Regions from separate parts of the Homo sapiens genome. Here region 2 is linked to region 1. The links are contacts of gene promoters, found by promoter capture Hi-C in blood cells and fetal thymus (Javierre and others, 2016). All regions are on one chromosome and are shown on one strand. The core of a region is centred on a gene start or on the middle of the fragment in contact, and the rest is flanking DNA. Distances in the headings are between cores, read along the strand shown.

Region 1 (4,769 bases), core at 1,782-4,281:
TGTTTTTTCTCTAGAAGGCAAAGATTTCCCAGCTTCCTAGTCTGGAACCTGAGCCTAAGGCAAGTCCTTCTACCTTTCCTAGGGGATTATCTGAGGTCTCCTTTACAGTTTATACCTAGGCTCTTGGGCAGAAGCCACAATAAAGGCAAGAAGCCACTAACTATGTATGTTGGGATGTGTGCGTGTATCTGCAAAGATAGATCATATTAACTATAGTCTCCTACAGAATTATTCTTTTTGGTTTAGTTCCTTTAGATCCTGTGAAGAGTAAATAATGTAGAACTTCATCATAAATTTATAATTATAAATGCTTTAGTTTTAAATTTAAAAATAAGAAGCTGAGTCCAAAATTAACTTCCAAAGGGAAAGGAAAGTGACAATTCTGAGACCTTCTATTGGAAGAAAACATCAGCCACAAATTTTGAGTTATCTAGAAAGAAAATAATTAGGTGCCCAAGTATAAGAAATCTGAAAGTCATTATTGTAATCCCAGCACTTTGGGAGGCCGAGGCGGGCGGATCACCTGAGGTCAGGAGTTTCAGACCAGCCTGGCCAACATGGTGAAACCCGTCTCTACTAAAAATACAAAATTAGCTGGTCATGATGACACATGCCTGTAATCCCAGCTACTCAGGAGGCTGAGGCAGGAGAATCGCTTGAACCCGGGAGGCGGAGGTTGCAGTGAGCCGAGATCGCGCCACTGCACTCCAGCCTGGGTGACGATCAAAACTCCATCTCAAGGAAAAAAAAAGAATATATTGTCAGACAATACTAGGAATACTAGGAAACAGTATGTAGGACATTAATGAAACAAGAAAGCATCTATTTACAGAAAGGACAGAGGAAAGGTATACTGTCTCCAAACACTGGCCTAGGTGAGCAACTATTTCTTTTTTTTTTTTTCAATCAACTCTCCCAGGTTAAAACCAACCATTTCTTGAGGTGGAAGAGGTGAGGAAACAGAATGAGTGGACACCATGGAGTTAAGAATGTCAAGGATAAGGGTAGATGGCACGAGATGAGTAAGAAGGAATGGATTTCTCTATAAGGCAGATTTTCAAAAAACTATCCCTTTTGCAAACCTACTGTTTTACAAGAGGCAACAGAAGGTTGCGGAAATTACAATTAAAATTTATAAAAAATGAGAACGATTTCAAGTGGGCAAATCGAAATATGGAGGGAGAGAGTAAAAGTGTAAAAAAGGAATGCACAACATAGATTCAGTAAGCAGAAACACAGCACTGAAGACTGCTGAGGAGAACGGAGACAACGCGAGCACACACCACCTGCAAGTCAACCGGCAATCACTATCCGAATTTCAATACGAAGTACAAAAAGGCAAATGTAACACCTAGATTAGGGTAATGGAGGCGGTGTGCACAGAGATTGCAAGACAAGGCAGCATCCCGCAAGAGCATGGAGGGATGTGGTGGGGGAGGCGTATGAAGGGGGAGGGACTGCAGCAGGGGAGAGAGGGTGGGCTGCAGCAGCAGAAGGCGCCTTAAAAAACAGAAGAAAGGAAAAGCAGCCTAGGGGAGGGAAAGACTAGGACAAAGTCAAGTGTGGGATCACAGGAGGATAGAGTAGAAGAGGCAGCAGAGACGGGCATGCCCTAAAAAAGCAAAGCGGTCAAAGACCCAAAAAGGGCTTGAAGTAGTTTTGAAGGAGGAGGAGTTACAAGGGGTCTACCATAAACCTGACTAGGAGGAGGCATGAGTATAGAGCAGGAGTGAAGGCAGGAGGCCAGGGAAGGGATGCTCTCAGAGGGGTGTGCTGATGGAGACGCTAGATTCCAAATTAGGGTGTGATACGGGGCCAACCGAGAAGAGAAACTACGGTGTCAAATCCCACGCCCCCCACCCCAAAGGCATGCAAGGGTCAGAAAGCAAGGTAAACTCTTGGAGTAGAAATACAAAAAGGAGGGGAGGAAAGGGGCACACGGTGGGATGGAAAAATTTAGGGGCAGCGTAACCATGAGGAGAGGGTAACTAAGGAAAGAAAAAGGAGACGAGCGGGGAGGGATGGTGTTTCCGGAGGAAAAGTAGGAGCAGACCAGAGGTCCTGCCTACTTGGTCTGGAGGGCAGAAGGGGCAGTCCACGGGGGCGGAGGGGAGTGGTGGAGAACGAAACTGCGATGCTGAAGATGAGAACTTGGGGGGGACACGGTACTGGCTGGATCAGAAAACGAAACGCCGTCAGTAAGGAGCAGATGAGGTTCCTTCTGAGCAAGACGAGGGGGAGTGAGGAGCAGAATGCAGCACGCCAAACGGGAAGGCAAAGGGGCGGAGAAGAGCCCAGAGTAATCGGGGCACAGGGAGGAGCACTGGGGGCGCAAGGGCATCAGCTGGAGACGACGGGGTGGGAGACCGGCGTCGCAGAAGCCCCGGGGCGGGTGGTGGGAGGGCAGCCCACAAGGAGGGGCCCGGCTGCGGAGGCCTGAGGGGCGGGGGTCCGGAGGCCGGCTCGGAGCTCGGGGGAGGTGCGGCCTGGGGGTGACAAGGGTAGCGAGGAGTGCAGGGGCAGGAGGGGCGCGGGGAGGATGGGGCGGCGGGTAGCCCCGATACTCACACCTCCAGGATGCGGTCCCCCTTGCGCACCCCGGCCCGATCGGCCGCCCCCCCGGGCAGCACGGCGCTCACATGCTGCAGCGGCGCGTACAGCTCCCCGTTGATGCTCCGCAGTTGCCCGCCCTCGCTCACTTGGCCCCGCACGTTGAAGCCGTAGCCGGACTCGGACTTGACGATGCGCACGACCCGCGGGCCGCCGCCTCCCCCGCCGCCGTTCCCGGCGCAGTGGAGCCCAGACCCCCCGCCGCCGCCGCCACCTCCGTTCCTGTGAGGGGCTGAGGGATGAATCCCTTCCCCGTCCTCGTCCGCCATCTTGCGAGCAGGCGAGCCGTACCCCCGCCCCCTACGCCTCCAAGGCCTCCCGGCGCGTGCTCGCCCTGCCTGGCAGCCGGACGACCCCCGACGCGCGCGCCCGATCCGCCGGCCGCGGGACCGACTCGGCCACCGAGCTGCTGGCGCGGGGTGAAGAGGAGGCAGGGGGCGGGCGAAAAGCGGACAATCGGGCACCGTGGGGCCTCCTGGGAGATGTAGTTTATGGGTGGCGGGGGCGGGGAGCGGTCTGGGCCTGGGCCTGAGCCGAGGTTATAAGACGCAGTTCGGAAGCAAGGCCTGCCGGGAGTTGTAGTTTATCTTTCATGCTGGGTTAGGAGTTTGATCTGCTGGGTGGGGAGAGTATAACCCAGCACCCAGCGTGGTAAAATGATTCAGTTCTTGATGCGGACCAAGTTTTTCGCCCCCCCCCCTTTCATTTCATAACCTCTAAAAAACAATAATGTTAGAATAACTTAACGTTTGTGATTCAACACAGTCTTAAATTATATCAACTCATTTTTTGGCACAGTAACTTATATGTTGACCAGGGCCCAACAACCTGTGAGGCAACCGGATCACGATTAGCTTCCCTATTTTACGTTATTAGGAAACAACCTTAGAGTGCTCAAAGTCATCCAGCTACTAAGTATCAGGAACTAAGGCCCAGTTATTGTGCAACTTTCTTGTCCTGTATTGCAACTACAGTCATGTGCCACATAAGGACATTTTGGTCTACAATGGACTGCAAACACGAGGGAGGCCCCCTAAGATGATAATGGAGCTGAAAAATGTCTATCACCTAGTGGCACAGTAGCCACCATAAGGTCATAGCACAAGCATTACTCACATGTTTGGAGTGATGCTGGTGTTAACAAACCTGCACTGCCAGTCATGTGAAAGTATAGCACATATGATTATGTACAGTACATAATACTTGATAATGGTAAGAACTATGTTACTAGTTTATGAATTCACTGTAGTTTTTATCACTATTTTAGAGTGTACTCCTTCTACTTTTTTTTTTAAGTTAACTGTAAAGCAGCCTCAGGCAGGTCCTTCAGAAGGTATTCTAGGTATTCTAAGTATTGTGATTTTTTTCCACGTATTCCAAGTATTGTGTTTTTTTGTTTTGTTTTGTTTTTTTGTTTTTTTTTTTTTTAAGATGGAGTTTCGCTCTTATCGCCCAGGCTGGAATGCAATGGCACGATATCGGCTCACCGCAACCTCTGCCTCCCAGGTTCAAGTGATTCTCCTGCCTCAGCCTCCCAAATCCCTTGCGATTAAACGCATGCGCCACCATGCCTGGCTAATTTTTTGGTATTTTTAGTAGAGACAGGGTTTCACCATGTTGGCCAAGCTGGTCTCGAACTCCTGACCTCAGGTGATCCAACCACCTCAGCCTCCCAAAGTGCTGGGATTACAGGTGTGAGCCACTGTGCCTGGCCCCAGTTATTGTTACCATCAGATGACAGCTCTGTGCATGTTATTACCCATGAAGACCTTCCAGTGAGACAAGAGATGGAGGTGGAAGACAGTGAAATTGATGATCCAGATCTGGTGTAGGCATAGGCTATGTTTGTGTTTAAGTCTTAGTTTTTAACCAAAAAAAAAAGTTTAAAACATAAAATTAAAAATTGCCTTAAATAGAAAAAAAGCTTATGGAATAAAGATATAAAGAAAGAAAATATTTTGTACATCTGTACAATGTGTTTGTGTTTTAAGCTAACTGTTATTACAAAAGAGTCCCCCCAAATTTTTAAAGGCTGGGTGTGGTGGCTCATGCCTGTAATACCAGCACTTTGGGAGACCGAGGTGGGAGGATTCCTTGAGCCCAGGAGTTCAAGACCAAACTGGGCAACATAGTGAGACCCCATCTCAACAAAAAATAAA
Region 2 (4,899 bases), core at 1,494-3,993, 380 kb before region 1:
CAGTGAGGTCAGGGTGGAGCTGAGACTGTGTGCCTCCCTGCTTTCTACTGACAGTTCAAAAAATGTGACTTTTGTAGAGCACAACCCACTTGGTATACCCTTGGACACAGTCCAGTCTTTTAAAGCGTAAAGTTGAGAGAAACAATGGAATTCTTTCAGGATTATAATGTATAAATTAGCACTCAAAGTGCTGAGAAAGCTGGACTAAAATTTTAACATCTTAAGTTTCTCATTTTTCTGGGGACTCAACAAATTTAGGAATCCACATCAAAAGCAAAAAGAAAGAATGTACTTCTTTTAAACAATTTTCAGCACTTTCTATCCCTTTACTAAATAAATACCACCCATCCTACCAAAGGATTTAACTAAAAGCAGTTTTGACAGTAGCTATGTTGGCTGATTAGGCTGATGCCTAAGCATTCTTTAAGGAAAAATTGATGTAGTTGGTTAGATTGAAGGAGGTTTCTTCCAAGTTCTTTCTTCCTATTGAATTGCATCTGAAACGTTCCTTTGCTGCCCAGTTCTTTAGTGGGCAAGTTTTAGTTGGTGAGAGGTGAGAGAGACAGCCTGGATCCAGATCCATTGCTTCAACTCATTTTTTCTGAATTCCCTTCAGAGATCAAATTTAAGAATGCCTTCTGGGTTCAATTTTAAAAACTCCAAAATTTCTAAAGCAAAAGGAAGGAAACCTCAAACATATTTTAAATAACAGATGTTTGTTTTTACTGACACCCTGCCGTTTATTTTCTGGGTGGGCTGTAAGAAAACTAGGGTATGGACAAGACACAGAGGAGCAAAGCAAGTCCGACTCACTCTGCAGAAGTGTCCTCTTTGAAACTGCAGCCGGGATCTGGGCATAGGTCCAAAGCAAACATTTGAGATTTTTCAGGAGCAGACACTTTTCTGAGGAGGACTCCTGCTTGTCTGCTACTCGCAGGACAACCAAAATACATCATTATCAATTTCTTAACAATTCATCGAGCAGGCTCTATGAGGGCTGGGGCACTGGCTATTGGGACCCTGCTCAAAAAACCTGCAACCTAGTGAGGAAAGAAACAGAAACACAAATAACTAGAATTCAGGCCAAATGCTTTAATAGTATTCCATTAGCTGGTGAACTCCTCAAAGGCAAGCACCATGGAGAGCTTTGTGTGTGTGTGCATGTGTGTATGTGTGTGTGAACACCCTCATGCCTAACACCATGTCTGGGACATTCAAAGTAGGTGCTCAGGGAGGGAGAACCAAAAATGGAAAATTGAATTCCTCCTAAGGTAACTAAATTTGTGGAGTCCAGAATTGTTTTCCATAGAGAAAACTATGCAGAGAAAGATGTCTCCGCCTCCCTTCTTAAGACCTGTTGCTCAGACAAACATGTAGAGGGCATGTATAGGCATCAGATTAGAATACTTCAATAAAAGGTGAGTGGACAGCAAGGCTGTTATTATCCTGTGGAGCTCAGCAGTGAGATAGCAGCACTAGAAAAGCAAAAAGTAGAAGATGGGATGAATGAAACACGAGAAAATAGCAAGTGTTAGAAGAGAAGGAGCACAGTCATGTCATTCTGACTAGACCTGTTTAGCAGGACACATATTTTTCCTTTTGCGTATGGAATGTGCACTCCTGTGTACTCTATCTACTGTTCCGTTCATAGTTGAACACTTTTGGGGCCCCTTTCCTGGCCCTTCCCAGCTCTCACATCGTCCTCCTGAGCTCTGAGCTACAAGGCTTTCAGCCTAGTCCTGGGTAATCACACCTGCACCTCAGCTACTGCCCAAGGGATTGTGTGGTTCATTTATGCACATAACAGTTATATAGTGCTCCATGAATAAAAGCAGAATAATTTGTAGTTCTTAATCAAGAGAAGCTTAAATCTCAGGCAGACAAGTAAACAATTAAATGAAATTGAATGTTTCAGGTGCAAGAGTACGTTATTGGGGATAGAGAGGACACTGCAGCCCCTCAGCCCCAGCCCCAAGGCCCTCCTGTCAAAATGTGTCTAACCAGGATGCAGGAAGCCCACATCTGTCCAGGAATAGAGCTTGCAGAGTGGCTACGTGAGGGTGGAAATGCCAGATTGAAGTCCCTGAAGAACTTCAGTTTTGGCAGCTAGCAGTGCTGCAGACAGCCCTGCCCAGGCAAGCCCCACCCAAGAACGGAGGGCCAGGCAGGGCTGACTCAGTTGGGCAACCATTGGCTGCACTCAGACAAGAGTTACATGATTCATCCTCTAGCCAAGAGAACAGAGTTTTAATCACAACATTTCCCCCTTTCCTTTGTCTTATTTTAAAGCCAGTGTGCAACTCCTTCCCCAAAACAGAGTTCCTTGCTGTGGCCCTGGTCAGTGCCCTTTGGGGTACTGGTTGCTGAGGAGACAAGGGCTTCTCCACTGATTTTCAATGCTATTTTCACCTCCTGGCTACTCCCTCCTCTGCATCCTTATTGCAGAAGGCCTACTGGACACACAGGGAGTCAGCTGGCTGCAATATTCACAATCCATCCACTGAATAAAACCGCTGGGGGAGGAGGGGAGGGGAAGACCAAGTGGGAGAAGGATGTAACTTCAGAGAAGGAAGCTCCGTCACTTCGTAATGGCTGTGGGCAAGAGAGGCATGCGACTGAGTGACTTCAGACCTAAGCACTCACACAGTGTGAGGTAGACTCACCTTGCTCTCCTGAAGAAGATACTCAAGGGTGGCCAGGATTTCCTCAGCTGACAACTTGTATTTCTTAGAACCTCCTAAAATTAGCCTTTTTAAAATTTAGAGGTCCTTACCCTGCTGCATTCCCTTTCTTAATTCTGCACTTTCCTTCTGTCCTGTCATCTGAAAAAAGTAAACTAGGTACCCCACCCAGTTCCAATTTCTGGGATCTTTGGGAATTGATCCTGAAGTGCTCTGCTGCTCTGAACTTGAGCACAGGTATTTTTAAACCTCTGTGGTGTCTGACTCCTTTCCTGAGTTATTTAAGAACTGGGGTGGGATCCCACGTCCTTCTCCCAGAGGTGACTCGCCCAGTTCAGTTCTCTTAAATTGCTGGACTTGGAGTACCAGTCCAGGCAAGGCAGACTCTCTGTAAGCCCACTGCCATCTGAAACCCATATGAGGGATGGGGGATGAGCCAGATCTGAGCTGTGTCAGAAGAGAAGGAAAAGGGTGTGGTTCCCCTGGAATTCATCTCACAGCAGACCTTGAAGCATTAATTTGCAGCTCTCTCCAAGATAACTAACTGCCTTTCAGATGACTCATGCCAGATTCTGATTTATAGCATTCTTTGGCCTGCTGGTTCCCATACTTTTCTGGAGATTAAGGGGTAGAATTTACAATTCTTAAGTGTTAATTGCTCAATCCTCATGTTTACCCACTCCACCTTCTCCTCTGTAAAAGATAGCATTTGAGAATCAGTGTTGAACAGGCATCTCTCAGAGATAGGAACCAGACCAAAGCATGTCTCAGGTTCCCATTAGAGCTCTTCAGCAGAGGAATTTGCCAGCCCTTCAATCTAAGCTCAAAGCCTATTCTTGTGATTATTTATTTTTATTTTTTAGTGCTATATTACAGTCTCCATTCACGTTCACCTGTTTCCTATCCAGTAGTGATTTTAGGTGATATTAGCCAAAGCTTATCTGTTCTCGCCAAATGATTCCTTCCAATTAAGCCAAAATTCACTGAGGTTCTATTAAGTACCACGTACTGGGTCTTGTGAGACATATACCCCTAGTTCATTATACCCAAATGTAATGATCTGACATGTTTCCTTTCCTTTCTTATAAACGCTTCATGATGAAAGCTCTTGCTTTCCCACTGTACCCCAGACTGTGAGAGCAGCTCATCTGTCTAATGTCACTAAAAACATAGGAGGCCCTCAAATGAGTTAGGTTATAGTATTACTTGTTGCTTCTCAAGTGAACTAGACAATGGACTTTGAGTAGTTTTCTGTTTGGGTAGAGCAACTGTATTTTACTGCCAGAGATGCAACTGTCTTTATTGCAGTAAATAACAAGTTCAGAGCTTTAGTAAAGAATACATATAGGCCGGGCATAGTGGCTCACGCCTGTAATCCCAGCACTTTGGGAGGCCGAGGTGGGCGGATCACGAGGTCAGGAGATCGAGACCACGGTGAAACCCCATCTCTACTAAAAATACAAAAAAATTAGTCGGGCGCGGTGGCGGGCACCTGTAGTCCCAGCTACTCGGGAGGCTGAGGCAGGAGAATGCCGTGAATCCAGGAAGCGGAGCTTGCAGCGAGCCGAGATGGCGCCACTGCACTCCAGCCTGGGCAACAGAGCAAGACTCCGTCTCAAAAAAAAAAAAAAAAAAAGAATACATATATACCCAGCAGATAAATTCATTTGTAAGCAGATTTCTAAACCCTAGAATCACACTGAACCAAGTTACCACTTTAAGCTTAGAAGGGTGAAGTTTTCGTATTTACCAGACTTGACTGTGTGGATTGTTAGTATCAGCCATATCTAAGAATCCCATTTACTAGTGCCAAGAGAAATTATGAACTATCTGTTCTTTCAGTAGGTGCTTTGTCAGTTAAAAAGAGGAACACTGGGCCGGGCGCAGTGGCCTGTAATCCCAGCACTTTGGGAGGCCGAGGTGGGCGGATCACCTGAAGTCAGGAGTTTGAGACCAGCCTGCTCAACATGGCAAAACTCCGCCTCTACTAAAAATACAAAAAATTAGCCGGACATGGTGGCGGACGCCTGTAATCCCAGCTACCTGGGAGGCGGAGGTTGCAGTGAGCCAAGATCACAACACTGCACTCCAGCCTGGGCAACAAGAGCAAAGCTCCGTCTCAAAAAAAAAAAAAAAAAAAAAAAAAAGAGGAACACTGATGTTGCTTTTCTAAATTATTAGTTTCTATTCTTCATTAGATTATTCATGCAAATTAGCT

The links. Contacts are between HindIII fragments. The CHiCAGO score rates a contact against its expected background, and 5 or more counts as called.
Region 2: a fragment that was not itself captured here is called in contact with the fragment with the promoter of SNX27 in region 1 in 3 of 17 cell types (total CD4 T cells, naive CD4 T cells and total CD8 T cells); the score reaches 5.6 in total CD4 T cells.

The regions. Positions count from the first base shown.
Region 1 is chr1:151,610,312-151,615,080 of GRCh38, reverse strand. It overlaps SNX27 (sorting nexin 27), which reads right to left and starts at 3,031. Exons shown (of 12, transcript NM_001330723.2): 1 at 2,569-3,031. The coding sequence starts at 2,879. LOC124904420 (a long non-coding RNA gene) reads left to right here and starts at 1,713. Exons shown (of 2, transcript XR_007066622.1): 1 at 1,713-1,890; 2 at 2,682-4,564. RefSeq lists a silencer at 2,676-3,115 and an enhancer at 3,156-3,255. The HindIII fragment of the contact is 5,045 bases long and covers 1-4,536 here.
Region 2 is chr1:151,986,957-151,991,855 of GRCh38, reverse strand. All of the region lies in intron 1 of S100A10 (S100 calcium binding protein A10), which reads left to right. Among named protein-coding and RNA genes, the nearest start is that of S100A10, 4.5 kb to the left of the region's middle. The HindIII fragment of the contact is 1,753 bases long and covers 1,867-3,619 here.